Linked DNA regions of Homo sapiens: region 2 is linked to region 1. The links are contacts of gene promoters, found by promoter capture Hi-C in blood cells and fetal thymus (Javierre and others, 2016). All regions are on one chromosome and are shown on one strand. The core of a region is centred on a gene start or on the middle of the fragment in contact, and the rest is flanking DNA. Distances in the headings are between cores, read along the strand shown. Region 1 overlaps EXD1 (exonuclease 3'-5' domain containing 1). Region 2 holds the start of SPINT1 (serine peptidase inhibitor, Kunitz type 1).

What was found. The method cuts DNA at HindIII sites, captures the fragments that hold promoters and counts their contacts. A CHiCAGO score of 5 or more calls a contact.
Region 2: a contact is called between the fragment with the promoter of SPINT1 here and a fragment that was not itself captured in region 1, in 3 of 17 cell types (total CD8 T cells, endothelial precursors and total CD4 T cells). The highest score is 6.2, in total CD8 T cells.

The regions. Positions count from the first base shown.
Region 1 is chr15:41,212,595-41,216,741 of GRCh38, forward strand. It overlaps EXD1 (exonuclease 3'-5' domain containing 1), which reads right to left. Exons shown (of 12, transcript NM_001286441.2): 5 at 4,074-4,147; 6 at 3,181-3,239. Among named protein-coding and RNA genes, the nearest start is that of EXD1, 16 kb to the right of the region's middle. The HindIII fragment of the contact is 6,313 bases long and covers 1-4,147 here.
Region 2 is chr15:40,841,343-40,846,064 of GRCh38, forward strand. It overlaps SPINT1 (serine peptidase inhibitor, Kunitz type 1), which reads left to right and starts at 2,706. Exons shown (of 11, transcript NM_003710.4): 1 at 2,706-2,844; 2 at 3,148-3,687. The coding sequence starts at 3,213. It overlaps SPINT1-AS1 (SPINT1 antisense RNA 1), which reads right to left and starts at 3,182. Exons shown (of 2, transcript NR_146468.1): 1 at 2,837-3,182. RefSeq lists silencers at 2,144-2,326, 2,488-2,717, 2,798-2,857, 3,148-3,387 and an enhancer at 2,279-2,850. The HindIII fragment of the contact is 21,246 bases long and covers 1-4,722 here.

The DNA of each region.
Region 1 (4,147 bases), core at 363-2,862:
ACTATCTAAGAGAAATAAAATCATCCACACAAAAACTTGTCCATGAATGTTCATAGTAGCATTATTCACAATAACCACAAAGAAGAAACAACCCAAATGTCCATCAAATGGTGAATGGATAAATAAAATGTAGTATATCCATACAATAGAATATGATTTGGTGGCTGACTGTGGTGGCTTACACCTCTAATCCCAGCACTTTGGGAAGCCGAGGCAGGTGGATTGCTTGAGCCCAGTAGTTTGAGACCAGCTTAGGCAACATAACGAGACGTTGTCTCTACAAAAAATATAAAAGAATTAGCTAGGTGTTGTGGCACATGCCTGTAGTCCCACCTACTTGGGAGGCTAAGGTGGGAGGATTGCTTGAGCCCAGGAGGTCCAGGCTGCAGTGAACTCTGATTGTGCCACTGCACTCCAACCTGGGTGACAGAGCAAGACCCCGTCTCAAAAAAATTTTTTTTAATTTATAAGGAATATTATTTGGCAATAAAAATAAGTGAAATACTGATATAAGCTGTAATGTGGATGAACCTTGAAAACATTATGCTAAGTAAACAAAGCCTGTCAAAAAAACTACATATTTTATTATTTTATTTATTTACTTGTTTTTATTTTTATTTTTTTTGAGATAGAGTCTCACTCTGTCACCCAGGCTGGAGTGCAGTGGCACGATCTTGGCTCACTGCAACCTCTGCCTCCTGGGTTCAAGCAATTCTCCTGCCTCAGCCTCCTGAGTAGCTGGGATTACAGACACGCACCACCACACCCAGCTAATTTTTGTATTTTTAGTAGAGACGGTGTTCACCATGTTGGTCGGGCTGGTCTCAAACTCCTGACCTTGTGATTCACCCATCTCGGCCTCGCAAAGTGCTGGGATTACAGGCATGAGCCACCGTGTCCAGCCAGTTTTTGTTTTGTTTTGTTTTGTTTTGTTGTTTTTTGAGACAGAGTCTCACTCTTTCCCAGGCTGGAGTATAGTGGCATGATCTCGGCTCACTGTACCCTCCACCTCCTCCCACTCAGCCTCCCCAGTAACTGGGATTACAAGTGCCCACCACCACACCTGGCTAATTTTTGTATTTTTAGTAGAGATGGGGTTTTGCCATGTTGGTCAGGCTGTTTTAGTGGTTGCCAAGGGCTGAGGAGTGATTAGGAGTGATGGATAAGGGGTGTGGGGTTTCTTTCTGGTATACTGAAAATATTCTAAAATTTATTATGTTGCTTTACTTACAACTCTGTGACTACACTAAAAGAAAATGAGCTGTACATTTTAACTAAATAAATTGTATGGCATGTGGATTATATCTCAATAATGCTATTTTTTAATAAAAATCTTCTGTTCAGTTCAGACTTAAAAAACAACCTGTTGTTGACCATCCTGGCTAACACGGTGAAACCCCGTCTCTACTAAAAATACAAAAAATTAGCCGGGTGCAGTGGCAGGCGCCTGTAGTCCCAGCTACTCGGGAGGCTGAGGCAGGAGAATGGCGTGAACCCGGGAGGTGGAGCTTGCAGTGAGCCGAGATAGTGCCACTGCACTCCAGCCTGGGCGAAAGAGACTCCATCTCAAAAACAAAACAAAACAAAACAAAAACCTTTTGATAGCTAACTGTCCTTTTAAAAATGCATCCATGGGCCAGGGACAGTGGCTTACACCTGTAATCCCAGCACTTTGGGAGGCGGAGATAGGCAGATCACCTGAGGTCAGGAGTTTGAGACCAGCCTGGCCAACATGGCAAAACCCCATCTCTACTACTAAAAATACAAAAATTAGCTGGCGTGGTGGTGCATGCCTGTAATACCAGCTACTCAGGAGGCTGAGCCAGGAGAATCGCTTGAACCCAGGAGGCGGAGGTTGAGGTGAGCCAAGATCACCCCACCGAACTCCAGCCTGGGCCACAAGGCGAGACTCCATCTCAAAAAAAAAAAAAAATTCTGACTCTTCTCTGAAACTGCCAATGGCTTTAAGTCAAACTCAAAATCTTTACAATGTCTAGAAAGCCCTAAGTGAACTGCCTCCTGCCCCCTTCCATCTCCTACCATTCTTCTTCACTGTGGTCCTGTCACACTGACCTCCCTGCTGTTCCTCCACACAAGCCAGGAATATTTCAGCCTCAGGGCCTTTGCACTTGCTAATTCCACTTTTAAGTTCTTCACTTTTTTTTTTTTGAGATGGAGTCTCGCTCTGTCACCCAGGCTGGAGTGCAGTGGCACGATCTCGGCTCACTGCAAGCTCCGCCTCCCGAGTTCACACCATTCTCCTGACCCAGCCTGGTGAGTAGCTGGGACTACAGGCGCCTGCCAGCATGCCCGGCTATTTTTTTGTATTTTTAGTAGAGACGGGTTTTCACCGTGTTAGCCAGGATGGTCTCAATCTCCTGACCTCGTGATCCACCCGCCTCAGCCTCCCAAAGTGCTGGGATTACAGGCGTGAGCCACTGCACCCAGCCTTTAAGTTCTCCACTTTGATATCTACATGGCTCCCTTACTTACTCAGGTCTTTGTTCTAATGTCACCTCCCTAGAGATGTTTTCTCTGTCTATCCCACATAAAATAGGACCTCCTTGTCACTCTAGTCCCCATACCATGCTTTATTTTTATTCCCAGCACTTACTGCCATCTAAAATAAAAGCACTTGTTTATTGTCTTGCATTAGAATATAAGCTCCTTGAGGGCGGGAACTTTGTCTTGATTATGGTTTTACCCAAGAGCTCAGAACAGTGCCTGGCATATAGGCATATAGCAGCCACCAAATATGTTGTTGAATTAATAGGAAAAAAAATCAAAAATCTTATAATAAAGAAATTTACAGCCGAGCGTGGTGGCTCATGCCTGTAATCCCAGCACTTTGGGAGGCCGAGGCGGGTGGATCACGAGGTCAGGAGATCGAGACCATCCTGGCTAACACGGTGAAACACTGTCTTTACTAAAAATACAAAAAATTAGCCAGGCGTGGTGGCGGGCACCTGTAGTCCCAGCTACACGGGAGGCTGAGGCAGGAGAAGGGTGTGAACCTGGGAGGCGGAGCTTGCAGTGAGCCAAGATTGGTCCACTGCACTCCAACCTGGGCGATAGAGCAAGACTCCGTCTCAAAAAAAAAAAGAAAGAAAGAAATTTATGACACACAGACATGATACCTACATACAGGCAATACTAGTAATGATTGAGGACAATACTTACCGCAGCACCAAACTTCTGCTGGAATTGATTAATGACTGTGTATGTCACCTCCTCTTCCTCTACAAGACAAGGATTGCATTAGATATATTTCTCTTCCTCAGCAACAGAATAGCTTTCTCAATAATTTTGGCCACACTCATATATTCCTACTGTATTGCAACTCAAATACCCTAAAATTGCAAAACCACCCTCCCTACGTACTACTTCTCTTCCTTTTTTTTCCTCCTTAGCATTTGGCACTATTACAGTATATATTTTACTTATTTATCTAATTTAGCATCTGTTTGCTGCTCAGTAAGGGGAGGGATACCATATTTCAGAATCCCCAATGAATAAGTGTACCCCAATAATTATGAGTACACACACAGTATGTACTCAGTTATTAAATAAACAAATGAATCACAATATTTTATCTTAATTCAGAACCCAGAAGCAATGGCTCAGCTTAGGATTCCATAGAGAATCTTGATTCAGGGTTACATCAACTCTAAACAGTAAAGAGAGCCTAGTTGAATTTGACTGACCTGGTTAAAAAAAAAAAAAAGAGAGAGAGAGCCTAGAAAATTCAGAGCCTCGGCTGGGCACAGTGGCTCATGCCTTTAATCACAACACTTTAGGAGGCCAAGGCGGGCGGATCACCTGAGGTCGGGAGTTCGAGACTAGCCTGATCAACATGGAGAAACCCCGTCTCTACTAAAAATACAAAATTAGCTGGGCGTGGTGGCACATGCCTGTAATCACAGCTACTATGGAGGCAGAGGCAGGATAATTGCTTGAATCCAGGAGGTGGAGGTTGCAGTGAGCCGAGATCACGCCATTGCACTGCAGCCTGGGCAACAAGAGCGAAACTCCATCTCAAAAAAAAAAAGAAAATTCAGAGCCCCTATATTCACCTGATGGGCTGTACTTGAGGTCATTCAGCAGAGAGGTAGCTGGTGCTTCAGGGGCAGGAGAAGCAGGCTCACAT
Region 2 (4,722 bases), core at 1,456-3,955, 370 kb before region 1:
ATTTTGTTAATTTTATGGCTGCATAGTATTCCATGGTACGTATGAAGTACATTATCTTTATGCAATCCATCATTGATGGGCATCTAGGTTGATTCCATGTCTTTGCTATTGTGAATAGTGCTGTGATGAACGTACAAGTGCATGTGTCTTTTTGGAAAAACAATATATTTTCCTTTGGGTATATACCCAGTAATAGGATTGCTGAGTTGAATGGTAGTTCTAAGTTTTTGAGAAATCTCCAAGCTGCTTTCCACAGTGGCTGAACTGATTTACATTCCCACCAACAATGTATAAGCGTTCCCTTTTCTCTGCATCCTCACCACCATGTGTTTTTGTTGTTGTTGTTGTTGTCGTTTCAAGTAACATTTATTGAGAACTCTTTGTGTCAAATGCTTTGTCTGCATTAACTCAATTAATCCTCATAAAAAACCTTATGAAGCCCCACTTCCCATTCAAGGAGACTAAGGCAGAGAGATCAAATAACTTGCACAAGGCCACACGAATAGTAAGTGGCAGATGCAAGAGCTAAATCCAGTAGTCTGAGTCTGAAGCTCACAAGTTCAACTTCTCTACAACCTGTCACCACTCTTCGTTCACTACCTGACCTTGATGGAGTCAGTGAACCTTTCTGCAAAGTGGAAGCAATTTTTAGAGTTGTCCTGAGCATTAGCAATCCTATGTCAAGTGCCTGGAGGGAACACAGTGGGCATCTCAACAAATGGTGGGTGCTCACCACTTGAAAGTGAGTTATGGGTTTAAGCAAGTTGAATCTGAGGTGAGGGCAGAACTTCCAGATGAAGTCAGAATTGCAAAGGCCATAAAGCCCAGGGTTTAAGCACTGAAGCCATGGAATTGGCCTGCCTGGGCTCCAATCCCTACTCTGCCGCTTCAATGCTGAATGACCTGACAAGTCAGTTTACCTGTCTGAGCCTGTTTGCTCATTTGTAAAATGGGGCTAAAAATACTACCTCCCTAGGTTTGTTTTGAGTATAGGGTAATATGTGGGCAGTGCTTAGGAACAGAGTTTGGGCATTGTCAGTGCTGAATTCATGTTGGTTTTTATAATGGTGTGTATAATGGATGTAATGATAAATTTATGGTGATGTAATATTACCATAAGGTAATATTTTCCTGTATTAAGATTCTTGAGGTCAGGCACAGTGGCTCACGCCTATAATCCTAGCACTTTGGGAGGCCGAGGTGGGTGGATCACCTGAGGTCAGGAGTTCAAGACCAGCCTGGCCAAAAAGGTGAAACCTCGTTTCTACTAAAAATACAAAAATTAGCTCGGCGTGGTGGTGCCCACCTGTAAGCCCAGCTACTTGGGAGGCTGAGGCAGAATTTCCTGAATCTGGAAGGCAGAGGTTGCAGTGAGCCGAGATCGTGCCATTGCACTCCAGCCTGGGTGACAGAGCAAGACTCCGTCTCAAAAAAAAAAAAAAAAAAATAAATAAATAAATAAATAAAGATTCTTGAATGTGTTAGCCATAAGGGGAAATCAAATCACAACAAAACCCTTTCTTCCCAGTGACTGCACAATCATTTTCTTCATTCCCAGCATACCACCATTGTTGTATATCCACCAGTGTGCCAGGGTCTGTGGATAAACCCTAAACATCCAGAGAAGGGGAGACAGGCCCCAGATTCCCACCCCAACACGCATCATGTGAGCAGCTGGAGGATGTTGCAGTTCAGCAAAATCCAAGGGTTGGCCACAGGATCTGCTAGGCAAAGCTGCTCTGGATGAGAAACTGGGAAGAATGTTCCCATTGGTTTGGGGGTTGTTAAGCCATCAGGAAAAGGTTTGGAATCTGTATTTTAAGAGAGCATGCTATGTGATTCCTTCCTCCAGCCCTGCCTTCATCTGTCTTTCACCTGTTCAGACCCTTGCCGTAGAGAATGGTCTCTTAAGAGTTTTTTACTCAGGAGGAGCAATGAGCTTGGCTTCAAGGAGTCCACTGTTTCGTGAAGGGCATTAACTCAGCTACTTGGTGAACTGGAACCTCCAGGCTTCCAAGGATGACATTTCCCTGGAAGAAAGTAGCCAGCAGCGTCCCCTTTGTGAAAGAGAGGAAGCCTGGGCTCCAGGGAAGGGGGCAACAGTCCAATGAGCCATAGCAGGGAATGGACCGAACTGTACATACAAGATGAGGAGGGGCCTCGAACAACAGGGAAGCCCCGTGGAGCACGCAGGGGAGCCTGGACGCGGGGAATCGCCTCCGTTTCTCACCCTGACAGCAGGGAGGGCTTCCCGGAGCTGACAGTGAGGCAGACATCCCGGATCCCTGTTATCACAGGTGCAGCCACGCAACTTTTGGGTTACCTTCCCGCCACGAAATGGAAATGATTTCCTGAGGGCCGGAAAGATCATTTGCATCGGGCCTCAGGTCTGGGGCTGGGAAAGCAGGCCCCGGCCGGAAAGGAAGACTGGAGGCCGCCGCCCCAGAGGCCGGACCCTCGCGTCCCGGCCGCATCCCCTCCCGGCTGGGTATGCGCTTCGGGCGCGGGGCTCCCTCGCGAGGCTGGACTGGGTGGAGCCCGAGAGCCCCTCCGGGGAGCTGGCTGCCGGGGAGGCACCGGGGCTGCGGGGCCGCGGGGCGGGCCGGGCCTGGAGCTCCGCGCTAGAGGCGGCCGCAGCGCACCGGGCGTGGGCGGGGCCGGCAGCGCAAGGGTGAATGTCGGCCCCGCCCCGACGGCGCTGACTCAGTTTCACCAGAAACCAGGGGGAGAAGGCGGCCGAGCCCCAGCTCTCCGAGCACCGGGTCGGAAGCCGCGACCCGAGCCGCGCAGGAAGCTGGGACCGGAACCTCGGCGGACCCGGCCCCACCCAACTCACCTGCGCAGGTAACCCGGGCCCCCGCGCGCAAGGCCGAGGCGCAGGCGGAGCGGGCTGGAGCATGTCCGGCCCTTTGTTCTGCGCTCGTGCGTGTGTCCGGGTACTTGAGCTCCCTAGCGGTCCGCCTGTCCGTCTGTCTGGCTGCCGGGTCCCTGGAGGGCGCGTGGGAGGGCCGGGCCCGTGCGCCCTCTTCGATCCTGGGGTGCTCCGGTCCCTCCTCCCCGCCACTTCCTCCCGGCCGGCCCGCCTCCTCCAAAGTCTCCCGGGCTGATCAGGTGTGTCTCCTCCTCTGTCCCCTCCCTTCTTCTCAGGTCACCAGCACCCTCGGAACCCAGAGGCCCGCGCTCTGAAGGTGACCCCCCTGGGGAGGAAGGCGATGGCCCCTGCGAGGACGATGGCCCGCGCCCGCCTCGCCCCGGCCGGCATCCCTGCCGTCGCCTTGTGGCTTCTGTGCACGCTCGGCCTCCAGGGCACCCAGGCCGGGCCACCGCCCGCGCCCCCTGGGCTGCCCGCGGGAGCCGACTGCCTGAACAGCTTTACCGCCGGGGTGCCTGGCTTCGTGCTGGACACCAACGCCTCGGTCAGCAACGGAGCTACCTTCCTGGAGTCCCCCACCGTGCGCCGGGGCTGGGACTGCGTGCGCGCCTGCTGCACCACCCAGAACTGCAACTTGGCGCTAGTGGAGCTGCAGCCCGACCGCGGGGAGGACGCCATCGCCGCCTGCTTCCTCATCAACTGCCTCTACGAGCAGAACTTCGTGTGCAAGTTCGCGCCCAGGGAGGGCTTCATCAACTACCTCACGAGGGAAGTGTACCGCTCCTACCGCCAGCTGCGGACCCAGGGCTTTGGAGGTGAGGAGGGTGCCAAGATGGATGGGTTTGGAGAGACTCAAAAAAGGGACTGGTTATGGGGTCCTAGGGGAGACGAACATCAGAGAGGAGTTAAGGAGAGTTCACTTTTTTTTTTCTTTTTCTTTCTTTTTTTTTGCGACGGAGTCTCGCTCTTGTCGCCCAGGCTGGAGTGCAATGGCGCAATCTCTGGTTGCTCACTGCAACCTCCGTCTTCCACGTTCAAGTGATTCTTCTGTCTCAGCCTCCGGAGTAGCTGGAACTACAGGCACCCGCTACCAGACCCGGCTAATTTTTTTTTTTTTTTTTTTTTTTTTTTTTTTGGTACAGACGGGGTTTCACTATGTTGGCCAGGCTGGTCTTGAACTTCTGAACTCAGGTGATCCACCCACCTTGGCCTCCCAAAGTGCTGGGATTATTTCTACCTGAAGCCCTCCTTAGAAGTAGGCAGTACAGCCGAATCAAGCCTGGTGATCAATGGGGTGACAGATGTCACAGCCAGATCGCCTTCACATCGGTAGTAGGCAGTACAAACAGTAAACAAATGAAAGGGGACATGAGTAGGGAGGGCAGGGCCCAGGCTCTGGCTCCTGAACTCAGGATGTTCAGAGGTGATGGGCTGGTGCTCACAGGGAGGCCTTTGGCTCTGGGCTGTGTGTACTGGAGGGGAGAGGAAGTCCCCAGGACTCCTGACCTCTGGCACTGATAGGCTGATTGAAGGAGTGAGCTGTCTGGATGGTCTGGTGACTAGAAAGGCACCTTGGCCAAGCACTGGTCTGGGCACACCGATGCCCTGTCAGGTGAGCCTGGCCATAGTCTCCTCCACTGGCTGGACTTGGGACTGCTTAGCATCTCTCTACCCCCTAGGAATGCATTGGCCTTTTGGTGGTCCAGGAAGACTGCCAGATCCGAGACTAGAAAACAAGCCCAGTCTGCGGTTGATCCAAAGGGAGAGAAGTGATGTTGTAGGCACAGAAGCCTAGAGGCTCTGGGGTGGGGGATGAGGAGGGTTGTGGGGTGAGTCAGCCTGTTGGTATG